2 separate regions of the Homo sapiens genome follow, and region 2 is linked to region 1. Evidence: promoter capture Hi-C in human tissues and cell types (Jung and others, 2019). All regions are on one chromosome and are shown on one strand. The core of a region is centred on a gene start or on the middle of the fragment in contact, and the rest is flanking DNA. Distances in the headings are between cores, read along the strand shown. Region 1 holds the start of DGKG (diacylglycerol kinase gamma). Region 2 overlaps TBCCD1 (TBCC domain containing 1).

What was found. Contacts are between HindIII fragments. The study calls those that stand out against the background at their distance.
Region 2: a contact is called between a fragment that was not itself captured here and the fragment with the promoter of DGKG in region 1, in 1 of the 25 tissues and cell types used here (thymus).

What each region holds. Positions count from the first base shown.
Region 1 is chr3:186,359,754-186,364,222 of GRCh38, forward strand. It overlaps DGKG (diacylglycerol kinase gamma), which reads right to left and starts at 2,481. Exons shown (of 25, transcript NM_001346.3): 1 at 2,193-2,481. RefSeq lists an enhancer at 1,249-1,766 and a silencer at 2,551-2,640. The HindIII fragment of the contact is 4,334 bases long and covers 223-4,469 here.
Region 2 is chr3:186,553,638-186,558,106 of GRCh38, forward strand. It overlaps TBCCD1 (TBCC domain containing 1), which reads right to left. Exons shown (of 8, transcript NM_018138.5): 4 at 2,772-3,138; 5 at 1,261-1,447; 6 at 617-1,114. Among named protein-coding and RNA genes, the nearest start is that of TBCCD1, 11 kb to the right of the region's middle. The HindIII fragment of the contact is 6,724 bases long and covers 1-4,469 here.

The DNA.
Region 1 (4,469 bases), core at 1,231-3,730:
GAAAGGAAATATGCCAGTATATTAACAGTGTGGGATGGGAGTGGTAGGATCATGGGTGATTGATTTGTTCTTTGCATACTTTTCAACTTCCCAATTTTTAGGCAATGAACATGAATTACTTTTATACTAAAAGAGTACATTATAATGATGTAATACAATAAGATATACATTTTAAAAGTTTTAAAGTTTTACCACAAAGAAAAGGTACTTCCCCGCCCTTTTCCCCCTTCTCTTCCAGGGGAGGAGATGGGGCCAGCATCCACCAACTCCCATCAGTAGGAGAGGGGAGAGTTGCTGGCTTCTGGGTTCTTTCCTCGCAGAGGCTCACACATGCACAGCCTGGGCCTCTGGGAGTGTCCGGGTTGGAGGGATCCTCACCATCTGTTGATGGTGTTGTGTGGGGAGTTGGAGCAGTTGGGGGAGCTGGAACAGATGATCTTAGTAGTTACTCCCATCTCTGAGAGTCTAGATTTCAAGACACGCTGATGTTTGTCGTTTTCTCCCCATGTCTCGGTTGATCTGAACCAACCACTCCATAAAATTCTAAGGTAGGAAAGACTCATCTACTAGCTTCCCACCCTAAAGCCCCTCCCAGAAAAATACCTGTAGTAATGCCTATAGTGCTGGGTGTAAACGTTAAGGGTGATTGGCAAAAAAGACATAGATCAGGAGTACGACCGGGAAGTTGGCTTAGTTGCAGCCGTTTTATTTAAGGAGTATAATTCATATTCGGAATGGAATCTCCAGCAAATGTAGTCTTTTAATATGACAAACAGTTAAGTACCTTCCCATGTTAGACACATGCCTGGAATGAGAGTGAGAGGGACATAAAATATAAAGGGGTGTGTGTCTGTGCCTGGGTTCATGACCAAACCTCGACATTTGCCCTCTATGATCTAATTTCCTTCATTGACAACCAGGGTGCCCTGTGTGCCAGCAAGTGGCTCTGCCAGCTGTATTTTACAGACAGAGAATCCCAAGCACCAAAATAACAAAGTTGATTCCCCCATCCAGACCAGAGGGGTCGTTTCCAGTCCTGTGTCCTGACCACTGTCTCTCATCATGACCCCTGGTGTTCACCTCCAGATCCAAAGTGTCGTCGCCAAGCCCCCAAAATAAAGGAATGACAAACAGCCCTCCCAGGCCCTCCTCCCCACAGAGAGGTCATCGTATGCTAATGAAGTCCGAGGAGGCAGCGGCGCAGCGCGGGAGAGCGCGCCCACGGGTTCACAGCGCTCCCGGGCACCACTGCGGCGCAGCCACAGATCGCTTCGCGCTGCAGCAGACGCTCCCGCCGCGGGGGGCGACTGGGGGAGGGGTCTCGACCGCCACCCTGAGTTCCGCAGCTCATCCCTCCCATCTGGGAGGTGGTTCTAGCTCTAGTCCCAAGCTTTCCACTGCAGTGATGGTGGGGATGGGGGCAGCACGTCAAATCACCTGTAGGGCTTTTTAGAACTCCACAGCCCCCTCCCCTAATTCTATTCCACTAGTTCAAACGAAGAAAATCTCAGACTAGGCAAGGGGAGGTGGACCGGTGGAGTCTGCGAAAGCACCACAGGTGACTCCGGGTACGCACTCCTCAGGACACAAGCACACACACGGACACATCTTGTGACTCTGAGACTACACAGATCAACCTCAGATTCGACCCTTCCCTCCTTTATTCTCTGAGGTGTCCGTGTTCGCTTCAGCTTCCCTTTAAGTCGCCCTGCGCAGGGGCTTTGTGGAGTGCCCCCAAAGTCCTAGAACCCCGCGGGACGGTCGGAGGCTTTGGCGGCCAGACATTAGGAAAAGCATCTCCTGCTTCTCGGACTGCCTGGAGCGCGAACTGGATATCAAGGAGCCAAGGTTAAGTCCAGAAGAAGAAGGAAATCCGACCAGTTGCTTTAGCAAACTGCCTGGAGCAAGGCCGCCTCCCACCCGCACAGCTTTGAGGCTTGAGGGGGCCTCTCAGTCGCAGAGAGAGCCGAGCCCCACCCTGTGCGTTCCCCAAGCCTGCACCCCTCGAGCGGGGCATCCCTTCCTGCAGGGCTTTGTGGCAGGTGGAACTGTCGGGGTGGGCGCCGTGGCTTTGGCTGCAGCCCCTTCCCTGGCCGCGGGACCGGCTCCCGCTTTGCCCTCCTTTACCAAGTTGCTGCACCGGGTGCTCCCTGAGCCGGGGACCCCCTCCGCCGCGCCGGCCGCCGTCTTACCTCACCAGGCAACACTTGGTTGCGCGGTGGCCCGGGGCGCTCCTTCTTCGCGGTTTATTCCCTTACTTGGGAGGAAAGAGGAACCGAGAGACAGAAGGGGGACCGAAGCTGGCCTCTGGGCGTCTTCCCGCCTGCGCAGCCCTCTCGGGGGAGGGGGATGCAGCCCCAGTGGGTGCCGCGGAGACCAGGCTGCCAGGCTGTGGTTGGTAGCGCCGGGGTCTTCACCCTGTGCTCGGAGTTCAGCAGCTCCAAAGCTGTCTATCTCCGTGGCCCGCTACTACGGCACTGCGGCTCTGTGCCCTGCCCCTCGCAGCCTGGCAAGTCCAGCTGCCACTCTCACTGCGGAGCCCTGCCCCCGGGCGCAGAGCCCGCCCCCGCCACACACACCGGCGCGCGCGCGTACACACACGGCACACACAGACACGCGCTTCCACACATGCACACGCGTGCGCACACACGAATGTGGATCCGCTCGATGGGAACCTGACCCCCTTTGGTGCAACTAGGGCGCGGGCATCATTAGGACGCTTTTTACTGACAGGGCTTCGGTTTGGGAGGAGGAGTTACAGGCTTAGGAGTGTGGAGAGGATGCAACAGTGGTGGGTACCAGAGGGCCCCTGACCCCGGAGGCAAAGGACAACTGTTTGACAAATAAATACCGACTGGGCGTTTCCTTTTCTCAACTCTGGTCAAGGCTACCGTAATATCCCGACCAAATCGAAGAAAAAATAAAAATACAAAATCAACAAGTTCTCTTTGTTTCCCAGGAACTCAGTATCTCTAGGATCCAAATCACTAGCCCTGTCCAGAGGGTCATTTCTGACAACCTTGACTTCGGTGGCAGTGGATTGGTGGCAGTTCAACTCGAAAAGGTTTTCCCCTCGTAGCCTGGTGGAGACTGGCACAGCCTGCCTGAGCTGGACTCTGTTGGATGGGTCGGGTCTCTGGGTGTGTTTAATTCCCATTCTCCTTTGCTTTTAGGTGACCTTGGACTGTATTCCTGCAGAATAAATAGATCTCTTCTTTTTTTAAAATGTAGAAGAGCACAGAAAAGACGCTGGGGTGAGGGGTCGGGGGGAATAGGGGAGCTACATTAGCCAAGGCACTATGACTTGTTGCTTCTCTTTCCATGACGTGCATGTCCACGTGAGGGGGTGATGGTGGTGGTGACACTATTTCAGGCATGTCACACAGCAAGATGACTGCTGTCCATTTCACACCACATTTAGAGTCATTAGGAGTTTAGACTGTCATCTTTAAAATATGTGGAGTTTACTCATTTCCACAGCCGAGAATTCTTTTCTGCCAGTGGGCAGTGAAGGTCCCCGGGCCAGCACTGCAGCCAAGAAAAGCTTTCCGCAGAGTGTGGAGGCGCCGAGGGGCTCTGGGTGTCTGTGCATTTGGGGAAGAAGCCTCAAACACGAATGTCAAACAGCCCTGAGGACCCTGTTGGGTGGTGTCCATACTAGGCTATCTGCAGGCAGGCTGGTGAGACAGATGAGAAACAGAGCTGAGAGATCTCCTTAAGATTCCACACAGTGATGAAGACAGAGCTGATACCAGAACCCCGTGTTTGCGACTCCTCTTATCCTCTGGGTCTTATCCATTCTATCACCCTGGGTGGCTTCTCAAAGTTTCCTTCAGCTAGGCTGAAATAATCTTGGTGAGGGTGCCTTCAAAGTTCTTCCTTGTCCTTTCTTTTTTTCCTCTTCAGTCACTGACTCATTCATTTTACAGCTATTTATTAAACTCCTACTCTGTCTTCAGGTGCTTCCCCGTAACTCCAGTCCTGGGCCTTACTTGGGAGGAAAGAAGAACTGAGAGACAGAAAGGGCTTAGAACTGTCCTCATCCCTGGAAGAGAGGAGCCCTGAGCACAGGTTTCTGGTATATATTTTCACTCTGCTAGGTTGCATGGATGTGGAAGACACAATCCTTGCTTTTTTTGACTGCATGCTCAATGGAGGAAAATGCACATACATGTCACAAGAAAAACATTCTGGCTGTCTATTCTTGACTCCTTCTAAAGAAGGCTAAACTGAAGGAGACCCTGTGTTTGGCTGAGCATCATAATGGACTTGGGGTACATGTTTGCAAATAGGTGTTAGGACAACATTGAGTTGCTCTGCCTATTAGGACAGGAAGGAAATAAATTGAATGGAACAAATGAAGAAGACATGCAGAGACTGAGTGTGGAGCCTTAGCTTCGTTGAGAGCACATTGGGGAAGGGTAACGAGAGGGGAGGAGCTCTGAGGACAGGGTTGCCAAGCAACTTGC
Region 2 (4,469 bases), core at 695-3,194, 190 kb after region 1:
TTAGCACATAGAAGGTGCCTAGAATGGTATTGGATTATGTGGCATACTCTATGTATGATTTTTTAAATTCATGTAAGTCTTATATTTGCCAACTAAACTTTAGCTTCTTAAGAAAAGGGAGTCTAATACTGGATATTTACCCACTCCCATCCCCAACCTAACAGTGTTTGAAATACTAATTTGAAATCCAAACCTTAATTTAAAAACACATTACTTTTTTTTTTTTTGAGACACAGTTTCACTCTTGTTGCCCAGGCCGGAGTGCAATGGCACGATCTTGGCTCACTGCAACCTCCGCCTCCTGGGTTCAAGCAATTCTCCTGCCTCAGCCTCCCACGTAGATGGAATTACAGGCACACGCCACCACACCCAGCTAATTTTTGTATTTTTAGTAGAGACGGGGTTTCACCATGTTGGCTAGGCTGGTCTCAAACTCCTGACCTCAGGTGATCCACCCACCTCGGCCTCCCAAAGTGCTGGGATTATAGGCGTGAGCCACCGCGCCCAGCCTTACATTTTTTATTACTTTAGCACAGCTGTAAAAATGTGCAGACTAATTTGTTTCTCCATGGAGTTTCACAAAAAACACAAACTGTTACTTGTAAAAAATACTCACTTTGTCAAATGAGCCTCCTTCACAGTTTTCTGCCAGATCTGTATCTTCTGTTCTCTTTGACCCAGTGCTTTCTGATATACAGATGGAAGACCCCCGGGTATCTCTGTTGTGTCCCCTTCCATTTCAAAGGGAATAATAAATACATAGAATTCACAAGGTGGTAAAAGCTGGAAGACTCTTGTGTCGCTGTTCTCTCTGCACACAACCATTGGATTATCCCAATAGTTAGGCACTGTAGCAAGGCCAGTCCTGGCCATATGGTCCTCTAGCATTGGGTAATGTGTATGAAAAGGGGCAAAAGTTACTGTCTGGTTCCCAGAGAGAATAAGTGGGCGTGTAGGCGTAAGAACGTGAAAGATGCAACCTGTTGTAGAAGAGATGGACAAACGATGGCAAACAGCAATGACTTTAACATTGTCACAACTGTGGAGGTGAAGTGTAGTCCCTACAGGGCCCAAGACAAAGATGCTATTCCTGCACTTCTCAATTGTCACAGATCTGAAAAAAGGAAAAAATGAGGTAAAGTCCTCTGAATAAGATTTTAAAAATTTGACTAAAATATTATTATCTGATGGCAAAAAAAGAATCAGTCACAGTCCAAAGAAAATGTCAGAACATCAGAACACCATGAAAACTGTGCTTACCGTAAGGGAGAGAGCAGATATATAAAAGATTCGTTGCAACGATGAATCTTTACATGTGCCCCCGCCAGAGTGTCTGAGCTCTTAGCCAGTGTCTGCTTGTAAACCTGGCTCATCACTACCAGTCGGTGCATCCTAGGGGCCACATGAGTATTACAAGCAATCTTAGCTCTTTTGGTGGTCCCTTCAACTATTTAAGAAAACATATAAATAGATGAGGCAGTATCAAATCAAAGAAAAACAAACAAACATATGAGGTTACACGTCTACATGTATATATGTCTCAAATTAGATACCACATGTAGGGACAAAAACGTTAGATCTGGGCTTTGGATAGAGGTATTTGCTATACTATTCTCTATTCCTTTCTGTATGTTTGGAATTTTCATTTTTGTTATAAAAAAAATTTTAAAACCTATAATGAATTTAAGATTGCCTATAAGTCTAAGATACTTTTTCGTGTCTACGCTTCAAGTTAAGGTCTATGCCTAAGGTCATATGGCTAGTAAGTGGCAAAGCTGTCCTAACTCAAATATCTTCTCCTCCAAGATGCTTTACTTTATCATCCCAAACGTAATTCACCTCTCTAAATTACCATAATATTAATTCTGTACCCTTCCTAACTTACCACATTATCCCATTAATCCTATTTGAGTTCATGCCTTTTTTTCTTCTTTTTTGTGAGACGGAGTCTCACTCTGTCACTCAGGCTGGAGTGCAGTGGTGCAATCTCAGTTCACTGTAACCTCCACCTCCCAGGTTCAAGAGATTCTCCTGCCTCAGCGTCCTGAGGAGCTGAGATTACCAGTGCATGCCACCACGCCTGGCTAATTTTTGTATTTTTAGTAGAGCTGAGGTTTCTCCATGTTGGCCAGGCTGGTCTCGAACTCCTCACCTTCCGCCAACCTCAGCCTCCCAAATTGCTGGGATTACAGGTGTGAGCCACCGCACCCAGCCTGAGTTCATGTCTTTACTCCTAAGATCATTACTACCTGAGAGCACATCTTCCTATCCCACACAGTGTGTTGCACAAACTGACACTCAAAAAATACGCGCAGGTTCTCCTAACACAGTCACACCGTTACGTGACTGCCTTCTCAGACTGTACCTCCCTGCAAGCCACCGGGACACCCTTGTAAACAACACCGCTGAAATACTGGGAGGTCACATGAGTATGCTATTATTCTTCTTCTTTTAAAACATTTCTTGTTTATTTTTATTACATACGTTTACTTTTATTACACATGTACCAGGTACATAATATATGGTTATTTAGAAAAATAACAGTAAAAGAAGATAAAAATAATTTGTAATCCTACTATCATTTTTAATATTTTAGTATAATCCTTGAGAGAAAAAGTCATGCACAAAAGACAGATGTTCCTTTTTCTCTTTTATAGGAGCAGTATTTTTTAGGTCTTCTAGAGAAGACACGAGATCACTAATATATTAGAAAACACTAGGTTCCTTAAGTTGTCATTCAATTTAATGTAGATTAAAATATTAAAAAATACCTTGATGAGCCCAAGCCAATTTCTTTCCAGACTTGAGGCAAGCTGATGTACCAAATGGATTCCCAGTCAAACAGGACCTCAACCAGGTTTCCAGTTTGTAGAAAGAGAAAGTCTTAGAGATCTTTGAGAAGCCACTATCTGCATGCAGTGGTTGCCACAGTGCAAGTTCATGAAGTGGATAGATCTTCCTGGCTCTACTTATTGTACCTTCAATAAGGAAGCTGAGCGCCACAACAGCTTCTCGAGACACTAGACTACTATGGGTTGAATGAAATGATGCAGTGAGTTGTTTTGGATCTAAAAGCAGCTCGAGGAGATCAGACAGATGATCATAGACAAAAGCTTGGTGACTGTAATCATTCCAGTTCTAAAAAAAAGTTAAAAGAAAGCACTCTTAATAAAGAGATTCCACAAGATCTAAAATTTCTATATTTTAATTATTTTGTATTTATACTCTGCCTCATCCCCCAAAAGGAATTAGGTAGTTATATAAACCTTATAAAGGTGATCCGCCCGGCTTGGCCTCAGAATTTCTAATCCCTTAGAATTCCAGTTCATTAACAAGCATGATGGCTATTCCAGTCCCAATGTCAAATGCGTTTTTAGTTCAAACACCTATCACCAATGCATAATTTCTTCCTGGGGGAACTGACTGGCCCAGGTCGTCACTTTAAATCTGGCCAATTTCAAATGTATAGCAATAAATGGGCTACTCAAGTGTCCACCCCGGTCCAATCAGTTACTCAGAGAGGTCGTGCTGTAGTATAAACCAAAGTCACCATTTATTGGTGCTTACTATGCAATAAGTCCCATGCTAATATATTACTGAAGTCTCATAGTCATTCAGAAACATGCATTATTATCCTCACTTACAGAAGGGAAGCCAAGGCCTAGAGAAGTTAACTGACTTGCCTAAAATCGTATGACTAAATGATAATAAATGATAGAGGCAGAAATGAATGGAGGCTACCTTGGCTCAAAACACCATCTCCTAACAGTGCCCATTCTGCAGGAACTACATGTGGAGAGAGAGGTAGTGACTGGTATCTCTCATACATCTGGGCTTGAACATTCTGAATTTAAGCTATAGCTAGGGCATCTATATAAAGCGGTAACTATAAAGCAAGAGCTCTGGGAAGGACACAAAGTTGGGAGTCACTGAGATATATGAAGTCGTAGGAATATAAAGAATTACATTGAATGAATAAGTTAAGAGAGAAGGGAAAATTGACCCAGACAGAATAGCTGCTTGTAAGGGCCAGGGGAGAGAAATTTATGAAAGAAAGTGAGAAGAGAGAGTTAGAAGCAAAACCAAGAGTAATAGCATCATGGAATATAAAGGAGGAGAGACTTATTAAAAAGGAGATTAGAAAAGTTCCAAATAGCAAAGAGATATTTTTTCTTAGCTTTAGAACATTTTTAAAGAGCTTGTACATGGCATTAATACTGAGGCCTACATTTTACTTAAAGTTTTTCAATATACTTACACAAGAACAAGTAAAAATATTTTGGTTTTCTTTACAAAAACAGAAAGAAAAAAGCAATAAGACATCCTCTAAAATTCACAATGTGAGGCAGTTAAATTTAGCTTCTGGGTTGTCACGTATGTAATTACTTAAACAACATGAGAAGATATTTTTATAATTTTTTTCAGTAGATTTCAAAAGATTTTGCAAGCACTCCATCTTCTTGATGCTC